Linked DNA regions of Homo sapiens: region 2 is linked to region 1. The links are contacts of gene promoters, found by promoter capture Hi-C in human tissues and cell types (Jung and others, 2019). All regions are on one chromosome and are shown on one strand. Each heading gives the region's core, a stretch centred on a gene start or on the middle of the fragment in contact. The rest is flanking DNA. Distances are from core to core; before and after follow the strand shown. Region 1 holds the start of C3orf36 (chromosome 3 putative open reading frame 36). Region 2 holds the start of TF (transferrin).

What was found. Contacts are between HindIII fragments. The study calls those that stand out against the background at their distance.
Region 2: the fragment with the promoter of TF here is called in contact with the fragment with the promoter of C3orf36 in region 1 in 1 of the 25 tissues and cell types used here (psoas muscle).

The regions. Positions count from the first base shown.
Region 1 is chr3:133,927,322-133,934,266 of GRCh38, forward strand. C3orf36 (chromosome 3 putative open reading frame 36) reads right to left here and starts at 2,491. Exons shown (of 1, transcript NR_161373.1): 1 at 824-2,491. It overlaps SLCO2A1 (solute carrier organic anion transporter family member 2A1), which reads right to left. Exons shown (of 14, transcript NM_005630.3): 14 at 5,380-6,945. RefSeq lists a silencer at 120-649. The HindIII fragment of the contact is 10,560 bases long and covers 1-4,424 here.
Region 2 is chr3:133,743,449-133,750,393 of GRCh38, forward strand. TF (transferrin) reads left to right here and starts at 2,945. Exons shown (of 17, transcript NM_001063.4): 1 at 2,945-3,035; 2 at 4,964-5,136. The coding sequence starts at 2,993. The HindIII fragment of the contact is 10,529 bases long and covers 1,798-6,945 here.

The DNA of each region.
Region 1 (6,945 bases), core at 1,241-3,740:
TTCCCGCGGGCCCTCTCGGTGCCTCGTGGCACCTTACTCTCTACTCCTCTTGTTCTCTAACGTGTTTAATACACTTTCGTGCAGAAAACATAAATAGACTAAACGGTGCTTTATCGCGGGCAGTCAGAGAGGAAGTTTTCTCGAGGCTGTGTCCCGTGAGCAGGCGCCGGTGGGCTCAGCCGCCGGGCCCTCCGAGTAGGGGAAGGCGTGCGTGCGTGCGTGCGGTGGGCGCGGGGAGCCCCGCAGGCCCGAGGGCGCCCCGGCGGGGAAGCGGGCTATCGGAGGCGCGCTGAGCCGGGTGGTGGAGTCCCGCCCGGCTGGCTGTGGGGCCGCGGGGGCGTCCCGTGGGCGGGCTGGGCGTGGCGCCTCCGCGGGTGGCTTCCCCGGGCCGCGGCGGAGGGGCGGCGCCCCCTGGTGGCGGAATGCGACTCCAGGGCGCAAGGGGCCGCCCACCCCGCCTCGCCCACCCGGCGGGGGCCTCCGCGCCTTTTCTGAGAAAGCCAGAGGAAAGGAGCCGAGACCGCAGTCCCCTGGGCCCGTTTCCTCGTCTGTGGAATGGCATGATTATTGCATCTCACAGGGCTGTCGTGAAGATTCAAGGAGCAAATGTATGTAAAGCGCTTCGGATGTCTGGTACATTCTGAGCCTTCAACCCACCTGAGCTGTTGAAACTCTGGGATTCAAGCGATTCGGGTCAAAGAGGAACGGTGTGACACCTGCCTCTGTCCTTTCCAAGGTGGACTCAGGGATTGCATACGTCTCATCCAGAACCCCCAGTCTCTCTTTTGTAAGCTGGCGGTCATGAGATGTAATGAGGAAAAGGTTTAAACAAATGTTGGTCCCTATCTGGGACCTCTGAAGTCACTTTTAATGGATTTGGGGATTTTACAGATTTAAAAAGGGGTGCCTACTGTGGCCCATTTATAGACCTGTGGAGCGAAGAGAAGGAGATTAGTCACACTGGGGGCCGGAGTAGAAGCCGTTTTAAATTAGTTGCCCCGCTCTGCCTTGAGACTGAGACTTTCTGACTCTCAGTTTCACCCTTGGGTTCCAGCACCCAGATGAGAAGAGAGAGAAGGTGGAAGAGGAAGAGAGGGAGGGGATAGAGCAGCGGCCACCACCTCTCCCTGAGAGGGCGCAGAGTGGGTGGTTCCCCCCAGGTGAGCAAGGTGGGGGCCCCGTGGGTGTGCTGGGTAGGGGTGGAGTGTGCTGGGAGCACGCGGGAGGACTGCGCCTCTGCTCCTCGGGGTGTGGCGCGGCCCACTCAGGAGCCCCTTCCAGTGTAGACTCCAGGAGGGTACTCTGAGCTAGGAATGCCTTCCTGAGCGTGGTTGGTGGGGGCTCTAAGGCCATTCCTCCAGGCCCTGAGGGGGCAGAGAGACACGTGAGCACTAACCCAGGAGCCGGGACTAGGCTGAGCCCACTACTCACAGCCTGGGGTAAGCCAGCCTCAAGACCCTCCAGGATGGTCTCAGCCTGCATCCGACTGCCTCTCCTGCCTGACCACTGCGCTCCTTCACAGGCCTCTGGCCGGCGAGTTCTCAAGATGTGCAAAGGTTTCCTGCTTCCTTACCTTTGCACACCTTTGCTTATTCCTTTTGCCCAGAAAGTCTTTCCCAGCACATTTGACTCTCTTGAATTCCAGTCTCTCCCGCATGGCTAGGATCAAGCCCGTTCTCCCATCGCTCATCAAATGAACTCAGAGCATAGTACTTTGCCCTGTGTTAAGGTCTTGTCTTAGCTCTGGATTATATGTCCTTGAAGGGTAGGGACCATGTGTTTGTCACCACCTGTCCTTATACACATCAGGTAGTACATAAATCAAGGGAGGCGTGAGGGACAACTGGAAGGAGCCTCGTTTTCTCCATGTACAGGATGGGACTAGTCATAGTGGCCGCACAGGGCTGTGGGAACTCTGGTGCGATTCTGCCATGAGTCACCCCATCTCCTCCTTGCCTGCAGGGTCTCGCTCCATCAGCTGTCCTCTTGGACCCCGCAGCCTCCCCATCCTGTGGCCTTTTGCCCCAGCAAATCTCTCCTCTCTGAAGCCATCCTTTCCTTGACCCTGCATCTCTCTCAGCCACCACCCCATCTCTGCCTCCTCTGAGCAAAATCGTCTTTCCCACCTCCCCAGCCCTCTGCAGACTGCCTCGGCCTTGCCTGGGCATCATCCCCTCAGCTTCAGGGACCCACAATTGGTGCTTCCTCCATTGGGAAATCTTTCCAGACTGTGCTTCCCAACCCCGACAGCCCCGCAAAGCTGGTTTAAGTGTCCCGGTGAGCAACTGTGTCCACCTAGGTTCACTACCCACAGTAGAGGGTTTTAGTGCTCAACCATATCTGCTCTTTTCTTCTCCTGAGCACACAGAATATTCTGTTCCGCTCTTGCGGCAGCTAGGCTGGGAGCAGAGTGAAGAGCGTTACTTTGGGACAAAGCATTGCTTAGCAGTGCGGGATCTTCCAGGACTTTCTTCCCCTGCCCCATCCATCATGGCAGCTTATAATGAAATGGAGGTACCTCAGGTTCCAAACAGTCTGAGTTACTGAGACACTGGTTGGGGGGGCTCTCAGGCCAATCCTCCAGGCCCTGAGCAGGCAGAGGGGCACTACTGAGCCACTGACCTGAGAGTCACCCAGATCACCACAGGTTCTGTGAGCGAGATACCATCTTTTGTTGTGTCAAGTGACTAAGATTCGAGAGGTTTGTTACCACAGCATAGCCAAGCCTTTCCCCACTGATTTACTGATTAAAGAAGTGTTTTAAATGGGTTAATGGCTTGGTAAACTGTAAAGATCTGTGCACATTTTAGTTATTATTATTGCTGTCAAGTTGTAGCAGGGCTGGAGACATGATGTGGCTGGAGAGTGGAGGAATGGCCAGGGTATGCCATGGAGAAAAACTTCCTCTCATTTATGATTTGCCAAGGGCTTTTCCAGGATCTGTTTCCATATTTAATCTCTGATGAAAGGTTATAATGAATCTGGTGTCTGGTGCTACTGGCAGGAGATGGACCTTTCTTCCAGGTATTTACTTCCTGTGGTTGCGAAAGATAGGATGTATTTCTTCTGGATTTGCTGCAATATAATATTTTAGTATCAATTTGATACTGACTGGCTTCAGCCTCCAGCTTAACTGTATCTCTCCATCTTTGAGAGTGGTTGAATAAAATCACAATATGGCTTTGTTTCTTGAGCAAGAATCTGCTAAGCAGTCACCAGATGGAGCTGTTCCCTTGAAGGTCTGTGTGCAGGATTCTCAGGGCCTTTTCTTCTCAAAACCCTTCCCTCTTTGTCTCTTTTCTCCACAACTCTCTTTAACTCATGGTGCTATAGGGATAAATTGGCCCTGTTTAATGAATAGTTGTGATGTTGTTGCTAGTTGAATAGAAGGTAAGTAAATGAACTGTTACCTGGTTCTTTTGCCTTTGTTACCCACCTTAATGGCCCTCAAGAGATTCCCCCACTTCCCTCCCATGGGCCAGTGAACATCAGTGGGAAAAGAGGGGCCTCCCCACCATTTTAGTCCATGCTGACTCTTCAGAATGACTCAGCTGGGGCAATTGGGCTGGACCAGAGAGAAGTGGACAGCCTGGTTTGAGTCTAGACCTGGCCAGCTATTATCTATGTGAAATTGGCCACAATGGTTGCTTCCTCGGGATCAGATTCCTCACCTTTACATGGGGCATCCATCATGGAGGATCACCCCAAAGGGCTTTGGGCCAAAGGATAATTGATAGAGATACGGTATTTAGTTATCACTGTATTTGCGCTTTTTCCAAGAAGGGTAAAAGAAGGATTGAATAAAAAAGGTTCCTGCACACTCTTCCTTTTCCGGCTTTTTTGTTCAGCCCTTGAGGAGCGGGATTCTGTAGGGAGAGGGAGTGGTGCAGAGGAGTGGGCTTCCTAGGACTGGGGCCGGGAGAGGGCATAGCCGCGAGTGTGCACAGGGAGGTGGGCCTAACCCTGGGGTCTCGGCTTTGTAGGGTTTCCAGGCTCAGGTGAGAAGCAGGGCCATTAAACAGCCTCAAATGGGAAAGGGACCAAAGACCCACAATGGCACCCTTGAATGCGTAGGCATCCAAGGACCTTCAGATGGCTCTAGGAGCCAGACCCAAGCATGGTTGATATTGAATTTCCAGCCAGACAGTAGGATGGGGGGTTTGAAATCAATAACTGATTTAAAGAAATAAGTGATTTTTTTCTTTTTGCACATCCAAGCTTGTGAAGTGAGAATGTCTCTCTCAGTACTGATAAGGGCCTCATATAAATGTGAGCTCTTGGATTGTTTTTCATGCCCATTGACTCTTAGTTGCAGCCATCCAAAAAATCAGATTCACAGGCATCTCTTCACCTTGTTATCCTTCACTCACCTTTGAACATACCAAAGGCCTATCGAGCCTGTAAATTTCTCAGTGGCCTAAGCACAAATGGGCATACCCCAGGCTCTATTGCACTGACAGCCCACCTCACAGGATTTGGGAACTACCCACATCAATCTCATGAGGGGGCCGTTAAAAGAGCCATTCCTGGGTCCCCATTAGACCCACAGAAGTAGACGCTGGGGCTGGGTGGAGGGTGTTGGGAATTTGCATCCTCTGTGAGTGTCACACACTCAAGAAAGTTTGTTAAGCTTTGCTCTAGAAGTGAAATGAAAGTGACACTATTATATTCCCTGCTGACAGCTGAAAAGAAAGATTTTCTTGGGAGTAGTAGTACTGGTTGTGACCATGTGATCAATTTGATTATGATATTAATTCTGTTTTGTGCCATGGACATAGCTGTTTGCGTCCAGCTCCGCTTCTGGATATAAACCCAAGAGCAGTGATGCGGCCTTCTCAGAGCCCAGCAGAACTTCACTGAAGGAATAAGCAGTGTCTGGTACTTGCCTGATACCAGGCTAATGGGTTGACAGTTGCATTACCTCTAATCTCCATGGCCATGGGCCCCTGGGGTCTATGTCATGAGCACTTCCTCTGTTTACAAGATGCAGGTGCCGGCAGGGCGCAGTGGCTCATGCCTGTAATCCCAACACTTTGGGAGGCTGAGGCGGGAGGATCACTTGAGGTCAGGAGTTTGAGACCAGCCTGGCCAACATGGTGAAACCCTGTCTCTACTAAAAGTACAAAAATTAGCCAGGTGTGGTGGCGCAGGCCTGTAATCCCAGTTACTCTGGAGGCTGAGGCAGGAGAATCGCTTGAACCAAGGAGGCAGAGGTTGCAGTGAGCCAAGATTGTGCCACTGCACTCCAGCCTGGGTGACAGAGCAAGACTCCATCTCAAAAATAAAATACAAATAAAAATAAAATAAAATTAAAAAGTGCAGGTGCTGTCTGTTCTCTGACAGATGTATATGACAACATAAATTCATGACCAAGTTACCTCAATAGCAAAATTAGAATATTTTAATAGTAATATAATAGAATAAAGGTTTGGGAGTGCAACCAATCTTCTAGAACCTGAAGGTTGGCATTCATTGTTCATAAACTCAGCTGAAGGCAGTGCCTTCCAAATGTGGTTAAATTGCCATGGGAAAGACCAGGGTTAGTTGCAGGGCATCATTTTCCAAGCAGAACCATTTCAAATGCTAAAACTGGCCCCTGAGGTTACATTGAGCCTCCCTTCCTGAGTGAGATGTTTGGAAATGAGGTGGCTTTGGAAATAAGCTTGTCTGTAACAGTGGTTTCCACAAAGACTTCAGTCTCATGGCATTGGACTTTGTTTGGACATTGACATAAATATTTTGGCATATCACCATATGAGGCTTTTCCAGAGGTGGCTTCCAGTATGCTTCTGGAGGGGGTCTTCCAAGAAGGGTGGCACTTAAGGGTCATGAATGGCCATGACCCATGCCCAGCTGTTCCAGAGGACATGGGGAGACAGAGCTGTCTGGCAAAGGGCCAGGTGCAGAGTCAGTCTGGGGGCCATGGATGGCATGGATAGTCAGGTCAGGATCCTTCATGCCAATCTGTGGCTTCTTGCTGTCCCCACCTCTCCTCCTGCTCTCACCAACTCCCACACCCCCAGTCCCACACTGCCCACCGAGCACACCCTGGGAGAAGGCCCTAATGTAAATGGAGGGAGGTGAGGTAAGAGCTGAGGGAAGCTCCATGGAGAACCCTGATTAGCATTGCTTTGCACAAAGTCGGTCTCCAATAAATATATTTGTTGATGAATGACCTCCTTCGTTGGCTTCTGTCTCTCAACATCTATCACGTAGCAGCTGTGTCTCTCAACCCAGGCACCCACCTCTCTGGAGGCAGTGAGAAGAGGCTGAGAAAATGGGAATGGTATGAGCATGTCTGAAACCAGGAAAGCCAACCTGACTGGCTGTTTTGTGGGCCGCAGCTTGCCATCCAGCTTGGTGACAGTGGACATCCACTCTGCTTCATCACTTGCTTTGCTGACATCTCTTCTGCCTCTCTACTCCTCGGAATACGGGCTGAAGTCCAGACAGGGAAGTGCATGTGAAGCCACCTCATCTGCTGCCAGGGAGATGTGGGAGGTTCTTCCCATTACTCTGAGATGAGGGGGTCTCGTCCCCACATTGAAGGGGTGGGAGGTTGGGCATCAGGACCTTTTCATAGGCCTTCCTTGGGTCTTCACTGTGTTGTAGCTTCCTCAGTTTGAAACGTACCCCAGAAAGACAGGGATAACATGTGAGGATCTAAGGACAGAAAGTCCAGGGTTCATATGGACAGCACTTAGATGACCCATCCTTGGGGTTTCTCAGTCCCTGCTCTGGTGCCTGCATGCAGGTAATGGGCAGAGACTGTACTTCCCAACATGGCAGCATCCAGAATGGCCTCTAGGTACAGGAAGTGAGGGTCTGAGGGGGAGGGAGCCAGCCCCTCCCGTAGTCTGTGCTGATGCCAAACCCAGGTGTGAAGGGGGTTACAGCCAGTCTCCCCAGTCTCCCAGTGGCTCTGGCTATTAATAACTCAGCCAC
Region 2 (6,945 bases), core at 1,695-4,194, 180 kb before region 1:
CAGATGAGCTCCTTGGCCCCTGCATGTCCTGGTTTCCTGGGAGAGGCAGTGTCCCTGGTGGATGTGTACACTCTGGAACCAGACTGCCTTCTTTTGTATTCTGACTTTGCAGCTGACCTTGAACAAGATATCATCCTCTCTTGTCCTCAGTTTCCTTGTCTCATCTGTAAGATACAGATGCTAAAGCACCAAAGTCAGAGGGGTATGGTAAGTGCTCAGTGAAGCTCCCAGTAAATCTCAGCCATCATTAAGCTATTAAAAGGGACAGTGATTCTCCAACTCCAGAACATCTCTGGTATAGAATTAAAGAATATAAATGAGAGCACAGGTACAAGTGTCATGGACATGGAGCGCTGTAATGTTAACCTCTTACCTTCACATGCTCCTATAGACATATACAGGCATAGGCACCCCATACAGCTAGGGCCATGCACACATGTACACCCCAAAGCTGGCCTCACCCCTGCCTACCCCATCCAAGGAATGGCAAGCACGAAGCTCTGCTGTTGTCCTCTTGAGCAAAAGCCAAGGCCCTGGCCTCTCCATCTAGGTGTGTGTAGATGACGTGGGAGCACCAGTTCTCTATGTCTTGTCTGAGCTTCCTTCATATCCCATGAGGCTGTATATTTCCTTCCCAGCACCTGTCTTGGGCTTGGACTCAAAGGACCCTTCTGAGGACAGGGCATAGAGCTGGCTGCTCTGGAGAGGACTCAGCCTGGCCAGTAGGTAGTTGCTCCCTGCTGAGGGGCTCTGGCTAGGCTATGGGCCTGTGGCTGGAGGACTGGCCTCAGCGGGGCTTAGTCTACGAATGTAGATGGGCTCCAGAAAAGGAGAATCACTGACCATCTTCTTTCCATGCCCTGCGTTGAGCTTCCCTGAGTTTGTGGCATGGGCTCAACCTTTCGTAACTGCACTTCCTGCTCTCTGGCAGACCCTGCAAGCTTACTACAGGGCCTGTCCATGCATCAGCTGTATGTGTGCATGCTGCTCTGCTGGGTGCCTTCCAGTTAGCCTTGCCCCTGACTTTTCCTGCTCATCTCACATCCTTACCTCAAGGTCTCCAAATGAATCCAGACCACTGCCTAGAGCCTGCTGCAGGGGCAGTAGGAATATGGCCCTCATGCTAACAGTCTTCTTTCCCTATGGCTCAAGCACAAGGGGCCCGTGGACGGGCAAGGGGGGAGTAAGACAGGGCAGCAGTGGTCACTCTCCCTCGCTGGTGAGGCTGATGTGTTGGGAAAGCCAGACTTGACTTCTGTCCTCACTGTAAACAGAAAGCTTCTGTAGTGGACTCTAAAGTGGGAGGTATGTAACCCCTTTGCATATGAGATAATCTTTTGGAGTGTGGGAGAACATAATCTAACTTCCAGTTATATTTATTGTTATTGCAAAAGATTAACAAATTATCATTCATTCATATTGAATGTGTGAATTGGCCCTATCTCCCACCTGAGTCTGCAGTCATGACAGATGGAGCCTTTCAGGTGTCCTAAGGGAAGATGGGGTTCACCTCACAATGCTAAAGGTGAAAAGGGGAGTGCCGACCCTGCCCTTTGTTTTGGCATTTTTATTTCCATACTTTGTGGTTTGTATGTGCCCAGTTAAACGGATGTACAGATTAGATAATCTGGCTTTAACTCCAACCTTCACGAGATGCACACATGCCTTAAAAAGATTCTTACAAAGAAACTAGAATTAGGAGACAATTCTGACAACACAAAAACAAGTGAACAAAAATCAAATGACTGACCTGACGTGTCCACTAGGCTTGATATGAGCTTGGTCAACTAAAACATGAGACAGAATGAATGACCATCTGGTCAGGTTGGATAAGAAGTAACTTTTGGCAAAATCTCTGAAGTCTGGATTTACACTTCGTGGAAGGAATCTTGACCTTTCCCCAAGTATATTATGCCTTGAGATAATAATCCTGTATAAGGCCGCATAAGCAAAACGACATTTGAAAATGAGTTTCATCTTTAGCTCATCCTTTTACAAATTTCTATTCCTTGTGCATGATTGAAGTGTACACATTTTTTAGTTAAAATATAAGCATATAGAAGGCACAAGTTCAATATTTTTCATGATAAGGATGTGTAATTAAACTGGTTAGGAGACTCATCGACTAGAGGGGGACATGGTGGCCCCAGGCTGTAAGAACAGGCCACACCGTCCACTGGGCCGCTTGCTTTGTGCTAAGATGACACTTTGTTCTGAGCCTCACAGTGTCTTGACCATGTTCCTGGAACCTTCTTGTTGGAGGGAGTTCATCTTCCCCTATGACTCTGTCCCTAGTCTAAGGTGTCCCACAGGAAGCTTGAGGGCGGGAAGTTTTCCAGCCCAGGAGCCTGAGCTCAGCGGGGCAGGAAGAGGGAGCAGCTCCTCCGTGGGGGACCTTTGAGAGCCCAGGAGCAGGATTTCGAGGGACACCTGGTGGGGAGCAAAAGGTGCTGAGTCTGTCTTTGACCTTGAGCCCAGCTTGTTTCTCCTGCATCCTCCCCCAAAAGGGGCTTTGCCTGTCATTCTGCAGTTCTAGTGTGGGGTCTGGGCGCAGTTCTTTTCCCTCTCCAGCCTCGGAGTCTTCCTCTGTGGACTGCGCAGATAGGACTGGTGGCACGGACCAGCTCTGCAGCCCTGGAGTCAGGAGCAGAGCCCCCCGGCTCCCAGCCCGCCGTAGCCGCTCCTGGCACCGAGCGAGCCGCGATGACAATGGCTGCATTGTGCTTCATGTCCCTTCCCATCAACATTTCTGTGCTGGACTCCTTCCACTCGCGGGTCGTCTCCAGAGCTCAGAAAATGAGGTGATCAGTGGGACGAGTAAGGAAGGGGGGTTGGGAGAGGGGCGATTGGGCAACCCGGCTGCACAAACACGGGAGGTCAAAGATTGCGCCCAGCCCGCCCAGGCCGGGAATGGAATAAAGGGACGCGGGGCGCCGGAGGCTGCACAGAAGCGAGTCCGACTGTGCTCGCTGCTCAGCGCCGCACCCGGAAGATGAGGCTCGCCGTGGGAGCCCTGCTGGTCTGCGCCGTCCTGGGTGAGTGCGGGCACGGGGTAGCACCGCAGAGTCGCTGGCCCGCGCGTTCCCTGCAACCCGGGCGGCCACCGCGCAGCCTGCATGCACTCCGCGCTCAGGCTGGAAGCCTGGGTGTCTGGGTGCCTTTCCATTGCCTCTCTACGCCCCACCCCTGGCCTTTGCTTGGGCTTCTAGACACCTTTCACTGCACTCACTGTCTTCTCCCCCTCCTCCTCTTTGTCCAGTAAATCTTGCAGCAGTGAAATACAATAAATCAGAGCACGTCTAACCAGGTTATCAAAACCCTTTGCTGCTGCCTCTTGTCAAGTCCGAACTCCTTAGCATGGCATTCAAGGCCTCCCGGGTCTGACCATTCCCCTTTCAGAGGCTGATGTCCCCTGGGTGCCCTGGGAGCTGTAGATGTCCTGCCAAGGAAGCGGTGCCATCGAGCGGTCAGAGCATGGGGTTTGAAGCCAGACTTCTTGGATCCAAGTCCTGGCCGGCTCCTCACCAGGGAGGGGGTCATCACAGCACTTGCCTGGGAGGGTCAAATGAGGGTCAGCGAGGTGGCAGATGCTGAGTACCAGTGGCAGATGTTGCACACATCCTGCTATGGGGCAGTGGCTGACGCCACACTCCCCGACCTCCTGAGGTGGGGCCCCCTTCATACTCTAACTTCTGCCTGCCATTCATGGGGCATTTGTCACACTGTTGGGGCTTCCACGTTTAGTTTTCTCTCCCCATAAGCTAGCAATTCCTTGAGAGAGGACCCCACGTTACTTGCCTTTATCCCCGCACAGAGCACTTCACAGGCTGTGCAAGGTAATGCTCCACTGAGGACACATTCTCGCCTATGGGAACTCTGGAGGCAGGGCTTTGTGGAGGGGCTGCCACAGGCTTATGTTGCCTCCTAGGATTTCCCATGGGCCAAGAGGGAAAATGGGGGTCGCTGGGGTGGCCATCCCTGGTGGCCCCTCCTCATGCATCCTGGAGAGCTGTGGGCCTCCTCTCCACAGGCTTTGTGGATCTTCTTCAGAGCCAGTGAGTCAGCCTTGCTGTGGTGGCCCACAAGGAGTGGAGATGACAGAGGGCCTTGGGGACAGGGCAAAAGCTCATGTGATAGGGATGCTGTCTCTGCAACCACATGGATTTTAATAGTTACCCATGGCTGGCTTCAGCTTTTTTTGTGAATGGCAGCCAAAAAGTGTGGTGAAAATGGAGGGATAGTTCAGTGGAGACAGAGGGGAGACTGTTGAATTTGTGGAGTTTTTAGTTCTTCCTAAACAGAGAGCAACAGACAAGAGTTACAGACAAATTAATTCTTTTCGTTAATTTACCCTCAACTACTGGCCAAGAAGGGGTGTAACTCAGAATGTTTTCTTCTTTTGTGCCCTGAGTAGCAGACCCAGAGTCTGGAGACCCAGATTCTAGGCCTGGCTTGGCCAACGACAAGCAGGGTGACCTTGGGTTAAAAAAAAAAAAAGGCATCATTCTCTGAGTCTCACTCCCTCTTCTCAAAAAGATGGCAATTCCTCCCCCGCTGGTTTTCCATAGTTGAGGTAGCAAGCCAATGTGTTGGGGTAGCTGAAAACGCCCTGTGCATACTGAGGCTTATGTTCCATGGGGGGCCAGGGGCCAGGACAGTGATGGGAGGAGACAAGGCGGATACAGAGGAGCAGATTGTCATCTCCAGCTGGGAGGTGATGGCCATGCCTGCACCCCTCTGGCCAGCAGAGGGTGGTCAGTAGGAAACTGGGAGGCCATTAGGGCAACCTTCTATTGGCTCAGACTCAGAATGCAGTAGAACTTGTGCCCTGTAGTGTTCATGGACAGGAGTGAGAGGAGGACAGGACTGAGGGGATGTGGCTGTCAAGGCCTTTCTAGGGGCGATGCTGTCTCTCCCTCAGCATAGGGAGTGGGCCCTTCCACCTCTGGCCTCTCTCCCCCAGGGCTGTGTCTGGCTGTCCCTGATAAAACTGTGAGATGGTGTGCAGTGTCGGAGCATGAGGCCACTAAGTGCCAGAGTTTCCGCGACCATATGAAAAGCGTCATTCCATCCGATGGTCCCAGTGTTGCTTGTGTGAAGAAAGCCTCCTACCTTGATTGCATCAGGGCCATTGCGGTAAGTCGCTGCTGCCTAAAAGAGAGTGGAAGAAAGCCATACTTTCTCTGTTTCCAGTCACTTTGGAACAATTCTTTACTCACAGGTAGGAGGCTGATATATGGGGCAGTCAACCTTGACTTACTAAAATCACTTCAAAAGTGGAAATGGGGAGGTTTTCTTTAATGTGTCTGGAAAGCAAAAGTCAAAAAGCACATTAACTTTTGCTTTCCAGACACAGTAGACGCAAGGGTGACTGTTTTGAGACCCTAGGTTCTCTGAACTTGGCGAAAATATAAGAATGCCTGCTATCAGGCTGGGCGCGGTGGCTCATGCCTGAAATCCTAGCACTTTGGGAGGCTGAGGCAGGTGGATCACCTGAGGTCAGGAGTTCGAGACCAGCCTGGCCAACATGGCGAAACCCCATCTCTACTAAAAAATATAAAAATTAGCTGGGCATGGTGGTGCATGCCTGTAATCCCAGCTACTTGGGAGGCTGAGGCAGGAGAATCACTTGAACCGGGGAGGCAGAGGTTGCAGTGAGCCAAGATCCTGCCACTGCACTCCAGCCTAGGTGACAGAGTGAGGCTCCATCTCAAAATAAATAAATAAATAAGAATGCCCACTATCAAAATTATTATATAACCTTCTTTGGCAGCTTTTGATACACAACTGGGAAGATGAGTGATGCATGCAGGGGGAAGAGTAAAGTGTCCTGATTGCAGGTGACAGCTGATCTTTTTGTTCTTAGGTCTACAAAAATGCTCTTCATTCTTTCAACGTTGCCCCTGCCCATCTGTACATGTCAGATCCTGTGCTGGGCAATGGGGCTGCAGTGGTGAATTAAACACATTGGTCCTTACCCTCAGGGAGCTCATGGGCTAGTCAGGAGAGCAGAAAAACACACGAATAAGTAAACTACTAATTCCAAAATGTGGGGATGTACAATGGAGGGAAAAAGGAGAGTGTTCTGACAGGGACTCACAGAAAAACCTGCTTTGTCCTGGGTGGTCAGAGACCATCTCTCTGAGAGAGATGTAATGAAGGACTGAGCCTGGGTGGGCTCCAGTGTAAAATACACCAGGCAGCAAACAAGAGCATATGCAAAGGGCCTGAGGCAGAGCAGAGTGGGCTTATTTAAGTTGCTAGTGGGAGGCCAGGGTGATGGGAGCTGTCAAAGATAAGCACAGCCAGATATTAGTTTAGGCAGTGACAATAGGTTTCATTCAGTAACTGCTGACAGTGGGGGAAAGAGCTAGGCTCCATTCTGATTTGTGCAGTGGTGATGTGAGCATTTTAAAGGGAGAATGAGGGAGGGGAGAACGCAGGGCTCTGTAGAGTCAGAGAAGTAAAAAGGTAGAAAGGGCTGGTCAGTGTAAATGTGAGGAGGCCAGCTGTGTCTGATAGCTGGCAGTTCTCTCGATTAGGACTCTATTCTCCCGCAGAGACTGCGAGACAGACACTCTATCCATCCTGATGATTGTGTTGCAAAGGAATGGCTCTCAGTCCTTGAGAGAGATGCTTGTGAGTTTCAAGAGATACATATTCACAGTTTTAAGTCCTTTTTAGTAAATTCTCTTGGAAAGGGAGGTCAGGGGCCTATCATCAGTTGTGTGTTGAGTAGAAGAAACAGGTACATTTTCCTGGCAGCACTGAGTTTTCTCAGGCAAGCACTTTAAGGGGAACCGGGCCATCCTAGGGACACAGATTTGTTCTGCTAGGAGCCATGCCAGAGTCTGGTCAGGTCTCTTAGTGCAGAGGTTTGGACAGATGTGTCAAGTGTGGGAAATTCTACAGTTCTCAGCACAAAGCAAGCAGTAGGTTAGCCGA